Linked DNA regions of Homo sapiens: region 1 is linked to region 2. Evidence: promoter capture Hi-C in human tissues and cell types (Jung and others, 2019). All regions are on one chromosome and are shown on one strand. The core of a region is centred on a gene start or on the middle of the fragment in contact, and the rest is flanking DNA. Distances in the headings are between cores, read along the strand shown. Region 1 overlaps LIPE-AS1 (LIPE antisense RNA 1). Region 2 holds the start of CEACAM8 (CEA cell adhesion molecule 8).

Evidence for each region. The method cuts DNA at HindIII sites, captures the fragments that hold promoters and counts their contacts. A contact is called where the count stands out against the background at its distance.
Region 1: a contact is called between a fragment that was not itself captured here and the fragment with the promoter of CEACAM8 in region 2, in 2 of the 25 tissues and cell types used here (heart left ventricle and stomach).

Annotation. Positions count from the first base shown.
Region 1 is chr19:42,629,611-42,636,169 of GRCh38, forward strand. The region is part of intron 2 of LIPE-AS1 (LIPE antisense RNA 1); the gene reads left to right. It also overlaps the pseudogene CEACAMP1. Among named protein-coding and RNA genes, the nearest start is that of CEACAM8, 38 kb to the left of the region's middle. The HindIII fragment of the contact is 7,533 bases long and covers 1-6,559 here.
Region 2 is chr19:42,590,413-42,597,405 of GRCh38, forward strand. CEACAM8 (CEA cell adhesion molecule 8) reads right to left here and starts at 4,512. Exons shown (of 6, transcript NM_001816.4): 1 at 4,353-4,512; 2 at 3,129-3,488. The coding sequence starts at 4,416. All of the region lies in intron 2 of LIPE-AS1 (LIPE antisense RNA 1), which reads left to right. RefSeq lists an enhancer at 5,845-6,345. The HindIII fragment of the contact is 5,245 bases long and covers 2,101-6,993 here.

The DNA.
Region 1 (6,559 bases), core at 1,763-4,262, 38 kb after region 2:
CCTCCTGTTTGACAGTCTTTGCCTAACTAAAATCTTTTGTAACTGCAAGTCACCATCTCAGTAAATTGGTTTTGTCTGTGCAGGGTGCAAGAGGAACCCATCAGGTGATTATAAGAGTGGACTGAGGAGTTGCTCATTTCTTTCCAGTGGCTTGTTTCATGTTTTGGCTCACGGAGGAAGAGAACCCTGGATGGGGACACAGTGGAAGCTTGTTCTCCTGGTGATCTGGGGATATTGGCTCATGATGGAGCCTGGCAGGGGTGACTGCTCTGGCTGATTTCTGTGCCTTTCCTATTGTCCAGGAGGTGGGCCAGGCTACAGTGTGAATAGGAAGGGAACAGAACAGTCAGCCTTGTTAGAGGGAGTGTCTGGGGAAGGCCTACGTGTGGGGGAAGCTGTGCAGGGTGCAGTATCGTAGCTGGAATGAAGGGGGAGGAAAATGAGGGACATGGAGGAGCAGAGACACCCATGGCAGTGAGCAGTGGGGGCTACAGTGACCTAAAAGACCTCAAGGTCCAGGGGCCCCCACTTCCTTAGTCCAGGACCAGGGAGCCCTGGAAACCCTTCTATGCCCAGGGAGCCTCAGTGTCACATGAGATGGGGTGGCTTTAGGAGTAGGGGTTCATAGGGATAGAACATGGGTCTCAGGCCCTGAAGGACAGAAAACCAGTGTGGACAGAAACTCCTAGGATTCTGTATCCAGAATCAGGTATCTAAAGAGGTTATAGATTATTCATTCCTTCATTCATTCCCTCCCTCCTTCACGAGAAAGCTTCTGAGTGTGTATGTTACATTGGGCCTGTGCTGCTGCAGGGTGCCAGTGGGGAGAGAAAGCTATGACCTCTCTTTTATCCTCCCATGGGAGTGACACCAACACATTGGGATACAAGATTTCAGGTCCAGTGAGGGGCATTAGGATCTGAGGGGGAGGACTGGATATTCCTTGCACTGACTTTGATCATTGAGGCAGGCAATTTAGTTCTGGAGTAAAAACTTATCAGTTGTCCATTTGCTCTCACTCCTCTGAGGTCTAGATAAGCATGAAGAAAGGATTTGAGCCAATGGATGACTGTGGGGTCCCCAGGACCCCCAAATCCCCACTTCTGGTGGAGGAGAGGATGGGGCTGTGGCTGCAGCCAGACCTCTAGTGACTCTGATCTGCCACTTGTGTTTGTGTGACCCTGGTTCAGTGACTATGCCTCCCTGTGTCTCAGTTTTCTCCCAGTCAGATAAGCTAAATGGCAAATGGTCTGTGGCTTGTCATGTTGTCTGTGAATGAAGTTTAAATTATTCACAGTCACCTGACCTAATGCTTGGCACAGAGGACGTGTTCACACAAACAATGTTTATTATTATTTGCCTGCATGAAAGAGCATATCTAGGCCTGATCCATGATGAACAAGATGCTACCAGGAACATCTTCTCTCTTCTGTTTCTGCCCCTGAAGACATTGAATTATCTACGGAGTCTCTTAAGTCTCCCAGGGCAGTTGGCTGATGGCCTAAGAAGCTTGTCCATCTGTCCTCTGCACTCTGAGTCTCAGGTGAAGGACTAGGCTCTGTCCATGCCCAGATGAGGCTCTGGGTGCTGAGCCCTGGCTGTTAAACAGCTCCAGGAACCATGGCCCTTGTACAGCTGGTAAACCTTTGCTCCCAGTCAGCCCTGCCCAGGAGGCCACAACCTAACCCTGGCACACATTCCCGAGGGTCACATGAAGTCAGGATTCTGGGACCGGGTTCTGGGGCTGAGGCTTCCAGGGTTGAACTTCTCTAAGAGAATCCCCGAGGGCCCCCCAGGCCAGGCCCTGACCCAGTTCTCCAAGGAATTTCTCAGGGTCATGTCCATGGGGAAGGCACGGAGTGCTTGGCTGAGACTGTTCTCCACCTGCTGTGTCCCTCCCATCAGACTGTCCTTCCTCTGCAGTGAATGTCTGCAGGGTCTGGATTTGGGGAAACAATTTTGATCTGCAGATGTTTGTCTCCCCTGTGTGTGTCCTGCACTAAATGCTCAAACCCTAAAATGGGACATAATGCAGAGGGCTACACAGGCACAGTCCAGGTCTAACAGTCCTGTGTGTTTGAAGTAGAACTGACCCCCGACACCCAGAAGTCATGAGGAATCACTCACGGTGTACGCTGATCTGTGCAGTTACTTTTTCAGTCATAAGATCTGCCTTTAAAATTTGCACGGTGTAGGATCCTGAGTCATTCAGGGCGATGTTCCAGATCTCCAGGCGTGCTTTGGGGTATACTGTCTCTTGGCCACTGTATGCAGGCCCTGGGATAGTTACTTCATTGTGTATTACATATCTTGCAATTCAGTCGTCGGCATCTATTGTTTCCCCTTTGTACCAGTTGTGGCCAAGTATATCCTGGGGCAGATTGTAGACAAGTAGAACAACCTCCTTCTCCTCTACCGCATTAGATGGCAGAACTTCAACTGTAACTTGGGCAGTGGTGGGTGGGTTCCAGAAGGTGAAAAGTGAGGCTAGGAGAGAGAGAGAGAGCATCAGTCAACATTGGGACCTATGTATTGGGGGGGAAAGATGGGGCCCTGTGTCCTGAGAAGGTCTCTTCACCCCTCAGCCTTTGAGTATGTATGTGTGTGTGTGTCCTACTGAGTCAAGGTTAGCAGCATGATCCCCATTCCTTCAACATCTCTGACCTTGGCATTTTCCTGTTTGGAATCCTCTTCCCCAGGGGTCTGCTCGGCCCCCTCCCCACTGCCCTCAGGTCCTGCTCACATCAGGCATCCTTGGGAGACTCTTCCCCTGACACCTCCTCTAGAGACCCTGGGTCTTCCCTTGCTGACCTTTCCCTGTTCTGTTTACTCCACAACTCCTGTCAACACCTGACCTCACATTCTAGATCTCTTTGCATGTCTGTCTTCCTTCCCATGAAAGCATGAGCTCTGTGAGAGCAGGGTCTTGTGTGATCTTGGTTGCACCTCAGTTCCTGGGACAGGCTGCAGACTCCTGTGGATGAGCTCATGAGCGTTCCCAAGGTCTTCCATGTCCTGGACCAATTTCTGAGGTTGGAGGCTGAGGATAATGTTTCATGCCCTGGTTATGTTTTTATTTGAAGTGTCATCTGATATAGTTATTATTATCATTTTTCAAAATTTAGTGGCCAGTGATGATTAACCAGGAAAACAGAATACTTAAGATTTTCCTACCTCTTACCAGTTCCAGTTTTATATGATTTTCCTGTTGTGACCCCTGTTCCTCTCTGGTGTCCTCTCCCGTATCCAGGCTCCAACAGAAGCCCTCAGTCCCCGCTCAGAGCTCTGTCCTCCCCAGGAGACCCCAGCCAGTCACTCTGCTTCCTCCTTGTGTTCACTCCCAGAAAGTTCTCTCTTCACCTGTGAGCAGGAGCCCCTGTCAGGGGATGCGCTGTGTGCAGGGAGGGGCTGAGAGGGGCCTCATGGCTTGTGCTGCCTGTGTGTTCTCTTCTGTGGAGGTGAGCCTGGGATCCGGAAACTTTCTGAGCATGGTTGTCAGCTGTGCTGTGCTTCCTCCTTCTGCGCTGAGCCTCTTCCCAGGGCAGGAGCGCCTCTCAGGCTCATGGTTGGGGTCTGTGCCCAGGACACCTCTCTGTCCCCTCCCCTCTCAGTCCTGCCTCCCTGTCTCTTTTCTACCTTTCTCTTCTGTCTGTGTTTCAGGCCCCTGGGAATTGCTGAGGCCTCTGCCTCCTTCAGCAGTGATTCTCTCACCCAACCTCTACACATGCTATGTGCAGACACACAGACACACACACAAAGAGACACACAGATACACATAGTCACACAGAAACCCTGTAGTTTGGGTGAGCCCAGTTCTGGGTCCTCAGCATCCAGCCATGTTTATGGCTCCAGGTCAGCCTGCACAGTTACCCCTTCTGCCCTCTTCCATCCCCACCTGGCTCTTCCGTTCAGAGCAGGAGGCTTGGACTGCACCAGGGCCCTGTCACAGGGATCTACCCTCACTGTGCTTTGGGTGAGCTGAGTGCTGGCTGGTGAGAGGGACCCTTTTTCTCATTGTGTCAATATTGGCTACAGTTTCCAAGGATGGACATTCAATGACCCGGGTGTCCCAGAAGAGACTGTCCTTCCTGGAGGTGTGCAGGATGAATCTCTCATGCCTTCTGGGAAGAGAGGCCTCTGCTGGTTGGTCAGTGGGGGCTGTGGTCCCAGGAACTGGTCTCAGCCACTCTCTTGCACCCTGGGTTCTGGTTGCTGAGCTGGGGCTGAGGCCCATTCATGTTTTCTCTGACTATCTTTGGTGTCCCGTCATCTGCCCAGCTGACTGTCCTGTGGTCACTCCACCTTCCCCAAGGCTGATGCAGCAGGGAGTAGGGGGCTGCCCAGGGACTTCACAGGACATGGCTCTCTGAGACCCAGGACAGAGAACCTGGGACAGAGCAGGGGCTCAGAGCTGAAGACATTCAATCTGACTTACTCTGTGGCCAGGATGGGCTCAGCCCTCCCTGTGCTGACATTCCCTGGGGTCTGTCCTGAGGGTTTTGACCTTGTCAAGGCCCTCAGTGTAGAGGAAGAACAGGCAGTGGCAGCAGACCCCATGTGGGGGTCACTGCTCACACCTGAGAGGGCAGATGGGGTGGAATTTTGGGATGGATTCATATTTAAGGAATGATCCAACAGTAGACAATTTTGAAAATGTACAGAAATTCCTATGCTATAAGTTTATTCTGCATAAGGTATTTTTTCTTAATAAGATAATTGACTTTTCATTCATAGATAGCTAATATGGCCTAAAATGGTGAGAACATCAGAGTGGACTGTTTGGTGTCTTGTGGTGTGGTTTCATGCTTTATTTCTCCCACCCCATATCTACAGAATTCTCCATATTCCGTTTTGTAATGTAACTCAGTGGGTGTCATTCTGGTTTGTGGTTACAGACCATTGGAAAACCCGTACCCTCTCTGCTGCGAGGTACAGGCAGCAATGTGGCATCAGCTCTAAACATGCTTTCTCCCGTGACATCAAATTGCTGATTAAGTAAAAGTCATTTCAACAGATACTGAAGATGTCAGTTGTACCCCTCACATACTCACAATTCTTTCACCAAGAGATGAAGGATTTTACTGGTGAGTTGCTTTGAGAGGTTAGTGTAGATCTGATTCTGTCAGGGCCACTTTTGCCCTCTGAGTGGGCATTTGGCAAAGTCTGGAGAAATTGTTGGTTGACAGAACTGGGGGAGGGAGTCCTGTGGCATTGAGTGGGTAGAGTTCCCAGAGGGTGCTGAACACCCTGCTGCTCACAGAGCCCCATTAGCATGACCACCCCTGTGTCAATGCTGAGGAGTGCAGAACCCTGCTGTGCCCTTCTTTAGCTTCCCTGGGTCTTCCCCAGACCTGATCCTTTCATCTTTCTGGACTGCTTTCCCATCTCAGCTCCCTCCTTGCACCTTAGTTCCCTCCATCTGAACTCACACTTAGTCCAAGGCCAGCCCTGATCTCTCAACTCTCTTGGCCCCTTTTTGCTCCTTAGCAGGAGGGAACCACTAGAGGGCACCCTCACCATTCCTGGAGCTCATGCCCTCCCTTTCAATTTTGAGACAAATATGGCTGCTTTTACTGTCACAACTCCAGCCCTCCGCATTCTTTAGCTTTACTCAGGCAGCAGCACCTGGACAGGCATCATGGACCCCAGGGAGGACTGTCACTCTGGAGATTTTGGTGGCATGGACTGGAGACCTGAAGCCACCCCAAGGCCCAAGTCACTGGGGAGAGGCTGGGTCCAGGTGAGGGAGCTTCACACTTGGTCCAGATGCCCCTGCCTAGTGTGGGCACTGGGGACATGTCCATTTGTCTGTGTCCCTAAAGGTCCTGTCACTCAGGATCTGTGCCTGAGGGCTTTGACAGAGCTGCTGTGGAGCTTTCCACATGGGGCCTTTCCCAGTGGAGCACGAGTCCTCCCAGGGATTTCAAGGAGGGCCGTTGCCTGGAAGAATCAGAAGGAATGTGGCAGCCACCAGGTGCAGGCTCCTCTCAGGGCCTGAAAAAAGGGACCTCTTTTCATCATTTGCCACTCATGTCTGCACTGTCTGCATCAGGATGGAATGATGTGGAATTTCATGCAAGGTCATTTTGCTTCTGTTCTGCTAATAATTTTTTTTCTAGTTAATCTTTTGAAGTAAAGGCAATTGTTGACTTTTGGGTGTTAAACTCACCTTTCATTTTTGGGGAACAAACTCAATGTGGTAAATCCTGACTTTTTTGGGGTCATATTTCATTTGTGGATTTTCCCTCTCTGTTCCCAAGTAGGGCATGCAGTTTTACTTTTTCATTGCATGATATTCACCTCCCTGTGTCCATGTGTTCTCATTGTTCAACTCCCACTTATGAGTGAGAACATGCGGTGATTCGTTTTCTGTTCCTGTGTTAGTTTGCTGAGAATGATGGTTTCCAGCTTCATCCATGTCTCTTCAAAGGACATGAACTCATCTTTTTTTATGGATGCGTAGTATTTCATGGTGTATATGTGCCACATTTTCTTTATCCAGTCTATCATTGATGGGCATTTGGGCATTTGGGTTGGTTTCAAGTCTTTGCTATTGAGA
Region 2 (6,993 bases), core at 3,262-5,761:
TTTGGAGCAGAACCTTGTTTCCTTTCCTTGGTTTTTAATGTCCCTTCTTTCCCTGCGGGGGGCAGATGAGGAGCTGTGGATCCTCCCATAAATACATGTGGACATTTGCAAATGCAAACTGACGGGTGGGGAGGGGGAGCCTGAAGTGCTGGAAATTTGGCCCTCATGGACCGTGGGTGTTTGACAGTTATGAGAGAGAAATTTGGGAAGAAGTTTTGCAAATATTTTCTCCTACTGGACATTATACAGAGTGAAATAAGCCACTGACAGGACAGATACTGTAGGATTCCACTTACATGAGGTTCCTAGGGTAGTCACACTCATGGAATCACGTAGTAGAATGGTGGTTGCTATGGGCTGGGAGTGGGGGGAATGGAGAGTTGTTCATGGGTCTGCAGTTTCAGTTACACAGGATGAGGAGGTTCTAGAGATCTGCTGTACAGCTTTGTGCCTATAGCTCATATACAGTGAGTATTTCTTATGCATAAGGCTTAGGGCCAAAAGTGTTTTGAATTTCTAACTTTTATAAATTTTTGAACATTTGCAGTATACTTACTGGTTTAGCATCTCAAATCTGAAAATCCCAAATCCAAAATGCTCCAGTGAGCATTTCTTTTGAGAATCACGTTAGTGGCCAAAAAATGTGGAATTTTGGAGCATTTCAGATTTGGGATTTTTGATGGTCAATGTGTAACTCTAATTTGCATTTTAAAATTTGTCAGGAGTTTAGATATTATGTTTTGACTATAGTCAAAAACAAAATTGGAGGAAACATGAATTTTTTTCCATAAGTAGAAATTGCTATTAATTGTCCACAGATCTAAAATCAATTGGTGGAAGGAGTATTTCTCTTGATAACAAAATAAGGTTTAGGCGTCCTGTGAATTCCAGCAGGATCACATTATGCTCAAAGGAAGATCCTGAAGTTCGCTTGAAATTAGCAACTCCCAGGTAGAGGGAGGCACGTGAGTCCTGTTAAGAGGACAGAACCGGTCAGAGAGGAAGTCTTAGGTGTGTCAATTCCATAAAGGGAGGAACAATGCCAAATTAGGAGAAGCGATGTGTGTTATGTTAGTAAATTTAGAAAGCTTCCTGCCCCTAATTCCTATGCAGAGTTAGGCAAAATTGGGAGGAGCCCAAAACAGGTATGCGCAATGCTTTCTTCATTTTCTCTTGACCTCGGGAGACACAAGTAGAATTGGATTAGGTTTTTGCGAATTGGACAGAGTCTAAGTGAGACGCCAGTGGCTCATGCGTCTCCCCACCTGAAGGACCCCATCTTATCACAATGGTGCCATCATGAGGACACAGATGTGTGTGGAACAGGCAGTAAGCCCATCAGACAGCACCTGCCTGGCCATCCAGGATCTAGTCTCTAAAGAGGTTTTGCATCATTCATTCTCTCATTCATTCCCTCTCCATGAGAGAACGATCGAGTGTGTGTCACATGTTGGGCCTGTCCTGGTGCAGGGTGTGAGTGGGGAGAGAAAGCAAAGTCCTCTCTTTTGTCCTCCCATGGGAGTGACAGCAACACATCAGGAAACAGGATTTCAGGTTCAGTGAGGGGGGTTAGGATCTTAGAGGGAGCCTGGACATTCCTCGCACTGGCTCTGACAGTTGGGGCAGGTGATTTAGTTCTGGAGTACGAATGAATCAGTTGCTTATTTGCTCTCACTTCTCTGAGCTTTGGATGCTCAGGAAGAAAGGATTTGAGCCAATGGATGACCATGGGGTCCGTGGAACGCAATAAGCCCTGCCTTCTTGTGGAAGAGAGGACGGGGCTGTGGCTGGAGAGAGACCTCATGTGACCCTGATCTATCCCTCGTGTTTGTGTGACCCTGGTTCAGTGACTGTGTCTTCCTGTGCCTCCGTTTCTTCTCAATAATAAGCTTCTATTAAAAGAAATAATAGGCTGAGCGCAGTGGCTCATGCCTGTAATCCCAGCATTTTGGGAGGCCGAGGCAGGCGGATCATGAGGTCAAGAAATCGAGACCATCCTGGCCAACATGGTAAAACTCTGTCTCTAATAAAAATACCAAAATTAGCTAGGGGTGGTGGCATGCACCTGTAGTCCCAGCTACTCGGGAGGCTGAGGCAGGAGAATCGCTTGAACCCGGGAGGCAGAGGTTGCAGTGAGCTGAGATCGCACCACTGCACTCCAGCCTGGCCACAGAGACTCCGTCTCAAAAAAAAAAAAAAAAAAAAAAAGAAATAAAAAGAATTATTATTTCTTTCTCAATAGGAAAATGATATTTTCTGCCAGGTTTTCTATGAATTAGCATTAAATTATCCATAGTCACCTGACCTGAAGCTTGCACAGAGGAGGCGCTCACACAAACAGCACGGGTTATTATTTGCCTCCATGAGAGGGTCCCCTTGGCATGATCCCTGCTGGACAAGTTGCTGTTAGGAACATCTTTCTTCTATTTCTGTCCCTGGGGACACTGAACTTTCTATGGAGTCTCCTAAGCCTCCCAGGCCAGTTGGCTGATGGCCTAAGAAGCTTGTCCATCTGTCCTCTCCACTCTGAGTCTCAGGTGAAGGACAAGACTCTGTCCTTGCCCAGATGAGGCTCTGGGGTCTAAGCCCTGGCTGGTGAGCAGCTCCAGGAGCCACAGCCCTTGGATGGCTGGTAAATCTTTGCTCCTAGTTGGCCCTGCCCAGGAGGCTACAACCCAGTGCTGGCACAGGTTTCCCAGGGTTACCTGGAGTCAGGATCCTGGGACAGGGGTCTGGAGCAGGGGCTTCCAGGGATGAACTTCTCTGTGAGGATCCCAGGATCCCAGGGAGCCCCTCAGGTCAGGCCCTGACCCAGTTCTTTAGAGTTTTTCTCAGGGTCAGGTCCATGGGGAGGGCACGGGGTGCCTGGCTGAGTCTGATCTCCTTCTGCTGAGTCCCCCCATCAGACTGTCATTCCTCTGCCGTGAGTGTCTGCAGGGTCTGGATGCAGGAAAGGAATTCTGGTCTGTGGAAGTCTGTCTCCCCTGAGTGTGTCCTGCACTAAATGTCCAAACCCTAAAGTGGGATGTAATGCAGAGAGGGACATGGGCACAGCCCAGGCCTAACAATCCTGTGTGTGGGAAGTAGAACTGACCCCCAACACCCAGAGGTCATGGGGAATCACTCACGATGTACGCTGAACTGGCCAGTTACTTCTTCACTCATAAGATTTAGCTTTATGACTTGTAGGGTGTAGGATCCTGTGTCATTTCTGGTGACGTTCCGCATCAGCAGGGATGCATTGGGGTATATTGTCTCTCGATTGCTGTATGCAGGCCCTGGGGTAATCTGTTGATTTGATATTACATATCCTATAATTCGACGGTTGGCATCCACTGTTTCCCCTTTGTACCAGTTGTAGCCACGAGGGTCCTGGGGCAGATTGTGGACAAGTAGAAGAACCTCCTTCCCCTCTGCAGCATTGGATGGCACAGCTTCAATAGTGAGCTGAGCAGTGGTGGGCGGGTTCCAGAAGGTGAAAAGTGAGGCTAGGAGGGGGAGAGAGCATCAAGCAATATTGCAACATATGTATTGGAGTAGAAAAATGGGGACATCAGCTTTGGAGTTTGTGTGTTTTTATGTGTGTGTATGTGTGTGTGTCCTACTGAGTCAATGTCAGCAGCACAGCCCCCATTTCTTCAACACCTCTGACCTTGGCATTTCCCTGGTGGAATCCTCTTCTTCAGGGTTCTGCACGGCTCCCTCCACACTGCCCTCAGATCCTGCTCACATCAGGGCATCCTTGGGAGACCCTTTCTCTGACACCTCCTCTAGAGACACTGGGTCTTCCCTTTCTGACCTTTCCCTGCTGTGTTCCTTCCAGGGCTCCTGTCAGCGCCTGACCTCACATTCTAGATCTCTTTGTCTGTCTTCCTCCCCAGGAGAGTGTGAGCTCTGTGAGGGCAGGGACTTGTGTGGTGTTGGCTGCACCCCAGTGCCTGGGACAGGCTTCAGACTCCTGTGGATGAGTTCCTGAGCATTCCCTGGGCCCTCTGCTTCCTGAGGCTTATTTGCCAATGTCTGACATTGTTGGCTGAGGACAATGTTTCATACCCTGGTTATGCTTTATTTGAAGTGTCATCTGGTATGGTTATTATTATCATTTTTCAAAATGTAGTGGCCAGTGATGATTAACCAGGAATATGGAACACTTGAGATGTTCCTGCCTCTTACCAATTCCAGTTCAATGTGATTTTCCTGTTGTGACCCCTTCCCCTCTCTTGTGTCCTCTCCTCTATTAAGGCTCCAACAGAAGTCCTCTGTCCCCTCTCAGAGCCCCGTCCTCCCCAGGAGACCCCAGCCAGTCACTGTGTTTCCTCCTCCTGTCCTTTCCCAGGAAGTCCTCTCCTCACCTGTGAGCAGGAGCCCCTGCCAGGGGATGCGCCATCTGCAGGAAGGGGCTGAGATGGGCCCCATGGTCTCTGCTGCCTGCGTGTTCTCCTCTGTGGAGATGAGCCTGGGATCCAGAAACTTTCTGAGCACGGCTGTCAGCTGTGCTGTCCTTCCTCCTTTTGTGCTGAGCCTCTTCCCGGGGCAGGAGCACTTCTCAGGCTCATGGGCGGGGTCTGTGCCCAGGACACCTCTCTGTCCCCTCCCCTCTCAGTCCTGCCTCCCTGTCCCTCCTTTCCCTTTATTTTCTGTCTGTGTTTCAGGCCCCTGGGAATTGCTGAGGTCTCTGACTCCTTCAGCAGTGATTCTCTCACCCAACCTCTGCACACACTATGCAGACACACACACACAGAGACACACACATACACAAAGAGACACACACAGTCACACATACACCCTGGAGACTGGGTGAGCACAGCCCTGTGCCCTCAGCATCCTGCAGCCTATGTCTCCAGGTCGGGGTGCACAGTCGCTCCCCCTGCCCTCTCCCATCCCCATCTGGCTCTTCCCTTCAGATCAGGAGGTCAGCGCTCCGCAAGGACCCTGTCACAGGGACACCACCACTGAGCTTTGGGGAGGTGTGTGCTCACTGGTGAGAGGGATCCTCCCCCTCTCTCATTGTGTCAAGCTTGGTTGCAGCTTCCAAGGATGGACATTCAATGCCCTGGATATCCCAGAGGGGACTGTCCTTACTGGTGGTGTGCAGGGCAAATAATCTCTTATGCCTCCTGAGAGAGAGGGCTGTTCTGGTTGGTCAGTGGGGGCTGTGGGCCTAGTGGTCATCAGGGACAGGTATCAGCCATTCTCTTGCTCTTTGGGTTCTGGCAGCTGAGCTGGGGCTCGGGCCTTCCATGTTCTCTCTGACCATCTTGGGTGTCCTCTGTTTTCGCCCGGCTGACTGTCCTGTGGTCACCCCACCTTCCCTATGGTTGGTGCAGCAGGAAGTGGGGAGTTGCCCAGGGGCCCCACAAGACAGTGCTCTCTGAGATCCAGGAGAGGGAGCCTGGGACAGAGCAGGGGCTCAGAGCTGGAGAGACTCATCCCAACTTACTCTGCAGCCAGGATGGGCTCAGCCCTCCCCATGCTGATATCCCCTGGGGTCTGTCCTAAGGGTTTGGACCTGGTCAGGCCCCTCTGTGTAGAGAAAGGATGGGCAGCGGCCGGGGAGCCCGTCTGGGGGGACGTTGCTCACACCTGAGAGGGCAGGTAGGGGTGGGCCATGTTCTGGGAACAAAGGGAGCTCATTCCTTGCCCCCCAGCTTGTGTACATGAGAGAGCGCTGTCCTCCCTCCTGGCTTCACGAAGGACAGCAGGGGGCAGGTGGCTACATCCCAGACAGTGCCTGGGCGTGACCATCACATACTCTCCGAGCCTCCTGGGGTGCAGAGGGAAGGTCATAGGGTGCCTGGCTGATTCCCCAGAGGCACTGTGGGCCCTCAGGCAGCTGTGGTTCTGTCAGCGCTGGGCTCAGCCTGCCATGCCGTAGAGAACAGGACACACGGAGCAGGGGCGGGTATTTAGGGAGCAGTCACAGAAAGAGTTGATGAGGATGGAGGGAGGTCACGAGGGGAAAGCGCCCAGTGTGGCATCCCGTGCACCAGCGCTGCCCTGGGAGATGCCTTAACTAGGCCCAGGGAAGGATTGGGTGTGTGGGGCAGGAGCTGCCTGCAGAGGGGGCGGCCTCATGTTGCCGGCTGCCTGGCTGCAGGGAGGAGCTGACAGAGTCCGTATGGGGAGCTTGGAGGGTAAGGAGGACGTGGGCCGAGGTGCCCTGGTGAGGGTGGACCCTGCTGGGCTGTGGGTTCCGCTGAGGGAGGTCAGCAGCCCCTGGGAAGGCTCCAGGCTGGAGGGACTCTGTCGCCCTCTGGTGGACTGGAAGGGAAGTGTGGGTGGCCGCAGTCCCAGGTCCGGCTGCGTGTTTTATTCCACATGGATCTGCACATTTCACACGAGGTCACCCACATGTTATGTCGAGCTCCATCACATTCCACATCCGTGTTTTTCTCTGTGGCTGATTCTCTGGTGTGATCTCTGAGCCTGTGTTAGTCCTCCTCACAATGGTCACAGCTGTGTGTGGAGATCTAATGGGGTGTGTGTGGCTCATGTGCTCACACAGAGTGTCCTGGGGTCAGGCTTTATGACCTACCCTGCCCCAACTCCACAACAAGATCTGAATAATGCGCCAAGTAAGATAAAGTCAGAATCCATGGGGGAGGGTGAGAGTCCTGGCAGTGCTGAGGTCTGTGTCTCCAGCTTAACTCTCAGTCTCTTTGCAAATACATTTATGTTGTGCATCTGCAGTTGGCTGGGCAGTTTCATGTCTCTGAATCCTTGAATCTCTCTGTGGATAAGGTCATGTAGGGACTGCATGTAAGTGTATGAGGGCTATCTGATTAGGGTGGGTATGTTTTACGTAGTAGGTTTTCTTCACCAAAGACTTTTCAAAAAATTGTGGTAGAGTGTATATATGTACATTCATATATCACCTCCACTTCCTGAGTTCAAGCGATTCTCCTGCCTCAGCCTCCCAAGTAGCTGGGACTACAAGCGTGCACCACCATGCCGGGCTAATTTTTGTATTTTTAGTAGAGGTGGGGTTTCACC